3 separate regions of the Homo sapiens genome follow, and all the other regions are linked to region 3. The links are contacts of gene promoters, found by promoter capture Hi-C in blood cells and fetal thymus (Javierre and others, 2016). All regions are on one chromosome and are shown on one strand. Each heading gives the region's core, a stretch centred on a gene start or on the middle of the fragment in contact. The rest is flanking DNA. Distances are from core to core; before and after follow the strand shown. Region 1 has its middle 69 kb from the start of LINC00578. Region 2 holds the start of TBL1XR1 (TBL1X/Y related 1). Region 3 holds the start of FNDC3B (fibronectin type III domain containing 3B).

What was found. Contacts are between HindIII fragments. The CHiCAGO score rates a contact against its expected background, and 5 or more counts as called.
Region 1: a fragment that was not itself captured here is called in contact with the fragment with the promoter of FNDC3B in region 3 in 1 of 17 cell types (total B cells); the score reaches 5.2 in total B cells.
Region 2: a contact is called between the fragment with the promoter of TBL1XR1 here and the fragment with the promoter of FNDC3B in region 3, in 2 of 17 cell types (total B cells and naive B cells). The highest score is 11.7, in total B cells.

Annotation. Positions count from the first base shown.
Region 1 is chr3:177,371,097-177,373,907 of GRCh38, forward strand. No RefSeq gene overlaps it. Among named protein-coding and RNA genes, the nearest start is that of LINC00578, 69 kb to the right of the region's middle. The HindIII fragment of the contact is 552 bases long and covers 1,051-1,602 here.
Region 2 is chr3:177,196,194-177,198,922 of GRCh38, forward strand. TBL1XR1 (TBL1X/Y related 1) reads right to left here and starts at 1,289. Exons shown (of 16, transcript NM_024665.7): 1 at 928-1,289. RefSeq lists silencers at 331-380, 861-960, 1,071-1,260, 1,501-1,880 and enhancers at 866-1,375, 1,376-1,883. The HindIII fragment of the contact is 6,955 bases long and covers 1-2,729 here.
Region 3 is chr3:172,037,930-172,040,888 of GRCh38, forward strand. It overlaps FNDC3B (fibronectin type III domain containing 3B), which reads left to right and starts at 1,649. Exons shown (of 26, transcript NM_022763.4): 1 at 1,649-1,842. RefSeq lists enhancers at 1,469-2,136, 2,137-2,803 and silencers at 1,722-1,901, 2,042-2,141, 2,322-2,571, 2,632-2,959. The HindIII fragment of the contact is 7,479 bases long and covers 1-2,959 here.

The DNA of each region.
Region 1 (2,811 bases), core at 77-2,576, 5.3 Mb after region 3:
ATACTCTTTTCATGGACAACAACAACAACAAAACTACGTGCCTCGATATTGTTTACTGAATCAAGTAGAGATTTTATTTTGAAGCAAGATTATTTATTAGCATAACTAAGACCATATGCCTTGATTAAAAGTAACATAAAAAGTAGAGAGACTAGGTTCTTTCTAGGAAATGTCAAGGAAGAAAGGCATTAAAGAACTGTGAGAAATGAAAAAGACTGTAGTTCAAACCAGGGTCATCCAGGGCCTGGTGCTTATATGACTGTGGGAAGGCCTTTTTAAAAAAAAAATTAGAAAGTACATACATACAAAATTAGATGTAGGTCTTGGAAGGAATCAGGGCTTAGGCTTTATTAGCTTAGTAGTAAATCTACCTCTGGGTCAAACAAACATGGCCTAATAACTGAGTTTATTTGTTTTGAATATTCATATTTGGATCAAAGTGATACAATCATGTGGTATCAACTCAAATTGTGCAGAAAAGTTTATAACAAGATTCTCTGGTCCCCCACCCTCCTCATCCTTAGTTCCAGCCCCAGAGACAACCTATTTTAGCTTTATCTTTCCTTTGGTGTTTATCACAAAAGGTTTAGTAATATATGCTCATAATTTTTTTATGATTAATCAAATTTAAATAGTACCTATTGACTCATTGCTATGGCATATGAGGATTTATCTTATTTTATGCCACCTCCTCTCAATGTTTGGTAGTAATTATTATTGCTTTTATTATTGTTTAGTAGCTTAGTCTAGTAACTAGCTTTAATTTTAGTTTTGTGTAATTTAGAAATTGCTCCATGATCTAATTCCACTGTCATTCAATGTGTAGCATTTCTGCTGGTTTCTTTTGTTGCTTCCCTTGCACACTAGATTCATAGTGCCCCTCTCTTCCAGCCCCACCCCCTTTGCCTATTGAAGTCCTTTCCATCCTTCAAAGCCCAGATCAATTCTTACCTCATCCATAAATCTCAGCTGTTCCAATAGACTTTGTTATCTCTCTTTGAATGCTTCTCACTTGACTTCTGCAACACGCAATTTAGCACTTAATTATAAAGCTTATTGTTTGTTTTTGAGCCCAGCCGCCTCCCCCTCCCTGGAGCCAGTCACTATATCTGTTGCAAGGCTGGCTCTCAATAAGTGTTTATTGAACTGAATCATTCTGTTCTCTGTTTCAGATTTGTGAGTCTTACCTGCCTCACTAGATTATAAATGCCACATATTCTTGCATTTTCCCATAGTGTAAAACATAGAGTAGGTACTCAATAATAAAAATTGTTGAATAATTCTGATCTTTTGCTTCATCCACATTATCTTGTAGCATTTCTCCTGCATTTACTGGAAGGTAGGAGAGGGTAAGTGAAAGCATACTATTTAGTTTTAACTCTGGGCCATATTTTTAAAAATATATTTTATCTACCTTTTCTTCGTGAGCGTAATTCTTTTTCCTCATTCACTCACTGAGTTCCCAAGAAGGTTGTTAAATATGGCTTAAAAATTATCCTTCAAGGCAGTTTTTGTGTGCAGAAAAGATTACTGAGTTTTTTCGCTTTAAAAATTAATAATCAATTAATTAATGTTACAAATCCACACATGTAGTTCTTTTTAAGCTTTTAAGTTCAGTTTATAAATCTTATTTTTCTGTTTATAAATCGAGCAAATTTTAACAATCATTTTTAAAGCAGCCTTTGACTAATATTTGGTCCTTTTCACAAACTTAAATAAACAGCCTGGAACACTTTAAATTTCATTTATGATTTAAATGTGCTTGATTTTCCTTTTATAGACTTTAGTTGCTTGCTTTAGCTAACAGACCTTTTCTAAGTATTTAAATAACTGTTGTAAATCTAACAAATCAAATTCAGCTATGGGAACACTAAAATCTCTTAAATCTTCCAATATTATATCATTAAAATTGTGTAAATCTAAACTCTAAATCAATAACTCAATCATATATTTTAAGGTGGAATTACAGGGCTGAACTGTTACATGAAGAGGCCAAAGTCTCATGTGACTTTTTAAATTCCAAATATTCACATATCCCTTAATAACAAAATTATAAAGATTACAGGTTTTTTTTTTTATTAAGCATTTATCAACTCAATTTCCAAAATTTATGGGAATTAAAGGATGCTTATCTGGCTGGTCATGATAGCACATGCCTGTAATCCCAGCACTTTGGGAGGCCGAGATGGGAGGATTGCTTGAGGCCAGGAGTTTGAGACCAGCCTGGTCAACACAGTGAGACCGTGTCTCTATAAAAATGTCAAAAAAATTTTTTTAAAAAGATGCTTATCTATTATGAAGCAAATGTATTACCCTGATGAATTTTGAGGATTGCCCTCAGTCTTAGTCAGTTCCAGCTGCTATAACAAATTGCCATAGACTGGGTGTGTTAAATAACAGAAACTTTTCTCACAGTTCTGGAGCTGGAAATCTAAGATCATGGCACCAGCATAGTAAGGGTCTTGGCAAAGGTCGTCTTCCTGGTTTACAGACGACAGTGTTTTCATTGTACCCTCACTTGGTGGAGAAAGAGATCATTTCTCTAATGTCTCTTATAAAGTCACCAATCCCATTCATAATCTAATTACCTACCTAAGGCCCCACCTTTAAAATATCATCACATTGGAGATTTAGGCCTCAACATATGAATTTTGGAGGGACACAAAATACTTAGTTTGCATCACCTTTCTACTTGATTATGGGAGTTGCCTTCTTGGCTTGTTGAAGGCACTTAATGCCTGGAGAAGATGGCCTGGGTATTAGTAGAGTGTCGTGTAGAACTAAAATGTTCTGGCAGGCTTCTTTTCATAG
Region 2 (2,729 bases), core at 39-2,538, 5.2 Mb after region 3:
AAGATTAATATTCCACTTAAATAAAAGTCTGCTTCTGTTCAAAAAATTAAATCGGTTGCAAAGAGGAAGTTACCGAGAAACCACCCTCACAACGTGGCCTTTACACTGTCAGAAAATAACGTGACTCTGTGCCACCCAAAACTTACCAGGAAGCTGGCAATAACTTTGCCAATTCTACACTCCTGAACCCAACTTCAAAGAGCCTCCACCAAATACCTCCTTAAGACGATAAAAAGCACTAAGTTACAAATAAACACGTCCCGGAGCAAGGCCCGGCTGCCGCGCGCCCCTCCCCCGGCCGGCGCCCCCGCCCCGGACGCGCGGCCCCAACAGCCGCCCGCAGCCCCCAGCACGCCGGCCGGGGTCGCCGCGCCCGGGCCGGGGACGCGCCCGGGGAGGGGAGATTTCCATTGCCGCCCGAGGTTTCACAAAATAGCATGCACCGAAAAGCTCCTTCTCCTCTGCTAAAAATAGGCTATAAAGGAGTCGGCCTCATGATGGCTCCTTGATTCAATTTGCTGCAAATCCTTTCCTGAAAGCCTCCCCCCCCAAACACACACGCACAAAAAGGGGGTGTAAATGCACGAAGGGAGGAAGAGGGGGAGAAGGCCGAGGTGCACATTTTCGGGGACAACATAATTAGGGTGAGGATCCCCCGAGACCGGGAAAGGGTAGGGGGGTGGGCAGGCACGTGAGCATTTCAAAGAAACCTGAGAGAGGAAAACGGGGGGATGGGGGCGCCCCAAGTGCCCTCCCTGCCTTCCCTTCCCCCACGCAAGCCCAGTTCCCCCAAGGGCCAAGTTGAAAAATGCATGTTCCACTCGCGCCCATCCCCCCGCGGCCCAGCGCCCCCGGCCGCCTCTGGCCCGCGCCCCCCGCCCAGGCCCCCGGCCGCCCCCACTCCAGGGTCCGGCCCCCAGCGCTTACCTGGAAACGGTGGCCTCCAACGCCGCTCCCCCCTCCCGGGAATGGAGGCACAAGGAAATTCCCCTCCTCGCCGCCGCCGCCACCGCCTCCAACCACCCCCAAAATAACCCCTCCGGGGGGTGAGAGGCAATTATAACCCCAGCGAGCGGAGGGCGCGGGGGATGGGCGCCGGGCGGGCGGGGGCGGGGAGCGCGGCGCGGGTCCCCAGGTGGCGAGCGGAGGTGCTCCCGCCGCGGGGGGAGGGGCGGGGGCGCACGCGGCCGGCGGCGGGGGGAGGCGGCGCGCGGGGGAAGGGCGCGAGCGGGGAGAGGAATTGAGGCAGAAGGTAAAAGCTGTTACTAAGGGAAAGAGCCAAACGGTTCGGAGCAGCCAACGGCTCAGACACTCAACACTGGGGAGAGAGGAATGGGGACCAGCCAGGCACAAATGAGCTCGCGAGGCCCGCGGCGGCGGCGGCGGCGGCGGCCGCGCAGCAAAACAAACCCGAGCGGCCTGCGCCGGGCGGGCGGGCGAGCGGGCGGGCGGGCGCGCGGGGGAGGGGCCGGCGGGGGAGGGGCGCCGCGGACGCCGGGAGGCGGCGGCGGCGCGGCGGGGGGGCTCCAGCGGCCGCGCTCCTCTCCTTCCCGGCCCGCTCTGGCGGCACTGGGGGCTGGGCTGTGCGGCGCATTCTTTTAAAAATCAGGCGAGCCCCGCGGGCACTCGAAGGCGCCTCGGGGCCCCGGGCCGCCCGCCCCGCCCCCACCGCCGCGGGCCGGCCTGGGTGTGCTCGGGTGTGGGCCGCTGGGCCCGAGACGGGTGGGGGCGGGGAGGCCCGCGCGGTGGCCGGGGTGGAGCCGCCGGCGAAGTTTCCCCAAGGACGCCGCGGGCTCCCGCGTGTCCGGGGGGCGGCCCGGCGGCGTTGGGGGCTGGGCGCACACGCGGCGGGCATGTGGGGGAGTGCGGCGCGGCATCATATGGACATTTGTTTGTGAAAATCTCTGTGAACACCTTTGTGTGCGTAAATACATATGGTTCTCCGAAGCGTACCTGGAAAGGTGCTTTATCTGTAATAAGCGACTTTCAAAATGTGATCCAGAGCACGGGATCTGGAGAGAAAACACGCACACAAGAAAAGGTTTTTGATACTAAACACAAAGCTGTAATTGAAGTATTTATGCCCAAATGTACTGTGAATCAAGCATATGGTGGTATTTATCATCTGGTGGGTCTGTTTGAAAGGTTTGCTCGATCAGTTCTTATTTCACAAAAATAAAATAATGTAACTAAATGTTTACTAAATATATACCTGCACAGTGGCATCCACAGTAGAAGTTTATCCACTTTGTGTACTTTTTGCATGTGTGAAGCACAGCAAGGCGGTTTATAAAGTATAACTTAGATGAGTGATAATGTGGCAGTATGGTTGAGGGAGGGTTGTTTTTAAAGAAGGGAGGCACCTCACAGGTTTTAAAGCAAATGGGGTGGTAATCTTTCTAAGACTTTCAGAAAGATGGGGTAGGGTGCTTTTTAGAGCTTTGTATAAGCTCAGGACTGGAGAAGCAGCCACCCTTTTACATTAAGATACGACTTGAAACCTTTTTGTTATTTCGCTTATTACTGCCTTCAAAGCAAAATAATGTTTGCAGCTTTCTTAAAGGTGAAGGGTTCTGTTTTCCTACTTTCATCAGAATATTTGAAAATAGATGTAGTGATCACTTTAAAGCAACCATCATTTCCTCTCAATATCAGAAACCTGAAGTTTTGCGACACACACACACACACACACACACACACACACACACACACACTACTCGTAACTTGCA
Region 3 (2,959 bases), core at 399-2,898:
CTACTGCACTCTAGCCTCAGAAAAAAAAAAAAAAAAAAAAGACTAACTTCAGAGCAATGTGAGAACTGACAAGGATTATAAGATTGTGGGGAAAAGAGGTATGAGACTGTAGGGAGGAAAGGAGGGAGTGGTTTTAGCCGGAGATCAAGGATGAGTAAATGATCTTAAATAGGGAAGAAGAAGTATGTTTCAGAGGGAAGGCACGTACAAAGGGACACAGGTACCTTCTGGAGCCATGAGTGATCAGCTGGGCTGAAGGCATGGCACCTGAGGAAGCCAAAGAGTCTGGAGCCAGAGAAGGCATTTGGACTCAAATGGGATCTATTGGATTGTACCCTATTGGCACTAAGGAACTACTGCCTACCCCCCGCCCCGGCTTCTCATGCAGGACTATGACCTAGAATTGGAGTTATGTTATAGAAAGATGGCTTCAAGTTCCCCTTTGAGGAGCTCCACAGTAAATAAGCCATTTAGGAGAGAGGTCCCCATTTCTCTGGACTCACCATTGCCTCCAAAAAAAAAAAAAAAAGGCTAAAATCTCCCCAAAAGAATGGCAAATGAACAAGGGAAGGAAGGAGCTATTTCTTAGTGTTCTTTAGACTTTAACAGAGTATTATGTACTGCTATTATTATTTTTTAGGTTAACAAAAGTAATACATTGTCTCTAGTGACTCCCTGAATGCTCCTTTGTAGCTTAATAGTTGAGGCTGAATGTAGCTATTCAGAATACCTGGACAGCTATGGATGGAAGGGGCTTCTCTAGGCTAACTTTTGCTCTCTTGTCTCCTGAATAATCTGAGGGGTGGCATGGGATGCAGTCTGTTAACCTCTTAGAGCCTGTACAACAGAAATACATTACATTTGACTTAATATGAACTCAACAGTTATTTAATGAGTCCTATTGTGGTCCTTGCACTGTGCTATATTTTACGGATATAAAGATAAAAGTAAGAAACAGTCTTTGTCCCTGAGAAACGCATTGTGAAATAAGGCTGGGTGAGTTGGCTCACGCCTGTAATCTCAACACTTTGGGAGGCCAAGGCGGGAGAATCACTTGAGCGACAGAGTTCCAGACCAGCCTGGGCAACCTATTGAGACCCCCTCTCTTCCAAAAAAGGAAAAAAAAAAAAAAAAAAAAAGGGTGCGGTGGCTCATGCCTGCCCCGTGCCTGCAGTCCCCAAAACAAACAACAACAACAACAAAAAACAAAAAACAAAAAGAAAGAGGAAAGAGAGATTTTAACTTAAGTATAATAAAAATTGCTCATACTATGTTAGTTGTATGAATAAAATGCTGTGGGAAATGTGGGAGTAATATAGCTCACAAGGTTGCTGTGGGGGTTAACAACAACAAAAAGCGAAATATATGTGTAAATGAAAAAAAGTCAGTTTTAGGCTTAATTATCACTGAGTAAACATTGCCTTTATATTACTTTGGCGATCTGCAGAACGCGCAGCCCTCGCCATTCAGGAGTTGTTAGTTCCCTAAGCCTCAGGTTTCTTTAGTCTGGCTGAACCAAAAGGAGTTTCTGCTTAGCTAGGCAGGGCCGGGGGACAACAGCTTCTGCGAGTCTGCGATTGTGGCGGCCGGTATATTCGGCGGTTTACGGTAATGGGCGGGCCCCAAATCCCCATGTGGTCCCGACATCATTGACATGGCGGAATCCCCCATCAAACCCTCCTGGTAGTTATTTGAGCGGCGGCGGCGGCGGCTGGAGGAGGAGAGCGGCGGCGGCGGGAGCAGCGAAGGGGGCGGCAGGGATCCTCCAGGCTGCCGGCTGGGAAGGCGTGGGCGACCCGGTGTGTGGCGCGCCCAGAGCCCCGCGTTTCAGCCCTAGGGAAGGTAAGGCGTGCAAGAGCCGGGGACTAGAGGAGACCGGGACCCCGAGCGCGATCGCCGGGTCCCGGTGCACTGGAAAGCCCCGGCCTGACGCCGAGTCCGCCAAAGTGCGTCCCTGTCCCGGGAGCGCCCTGGGCTTCCCGGCAAAAACTTGGCGCCGGAGTGCTGGGGCGCCCCGTGCTCGCCTGGGCACCCCGGGAACACGGGACCCGGGAGGGGGCGGCCCCCGCCTTGCTGGGCTGGGGTCCCCCGCCTGTGCCCCCTGCCTCAGGGTTTGGAGGAGTGAAAGAAACGGGTAGATTCCTCTTAAAAAAAATTGGGCAGTGGCTCGCGGCCTCCCCCCACCCCCAGCCTTCCCAGCAGATTTTGTCCGAGGAATCCGCTCCCCCTCCCGGAATCTCCGCGGCAGGAACGCTGCCCAGGAGGGGGAGGGCGGGCGGCGAGGCCGAGGAATCTTCGACGTGTCACTTTCTGAGGCTGTAGATTTCCATATGGTGGAGGGAAGAGGGCGGGAGTGCGAAGTGGGGCTGGAAGTTGGGGCCGCCTCTCCGCGCCGGCGGGGGCGGTCGGGGGCCTCGAACCCGGGGATGCTCGCGGGGAGGGTCCCGAGCCCGCGCCGGCCTGGCCCCCCCGTCCCCGGCTGGGCCTCTCCGGGACACTCCCCGCCCCGCTGCTGGCCACCTCCGAGCACGCCACGTCCTCCTCCCCGTCCTGCCCCCCGGGCTCCCCCCGGGCTGGGGGCGGTAACCGGCGGCCGCGGCCGGACTTGGCGAGCCGGCGGCTGGAAGCTCGGGCGGGGGAGCGGGGCGCGGCGGGAAGGAGCGGGCGACCCGGTGTGTGGGCCAGCGGAGCTCCGGTCAGTCGGTCACCCCGAGGGGCGCCTCGGCCGGGGATAGGGCGGGCGGGCGGAATCTGCGCCCCGAGGCGGCCAGGAGGGGCCGCGCGGACCGTCTGGTGCCCGCGGCTGGGCTGGGGCCGGCAGGCGTGGGAAGGGCCTGTCACTCTCGGCAGAAAGTGGGGCCTCGGGCTGTGCCCGCGAACTTTCCCAGAGGTCCGGGTCCCGGCGTCCCGTGGGAACCGGAGGACCCGGGCCCGCCGTCTCGGGAGACTGGGCTGCGCC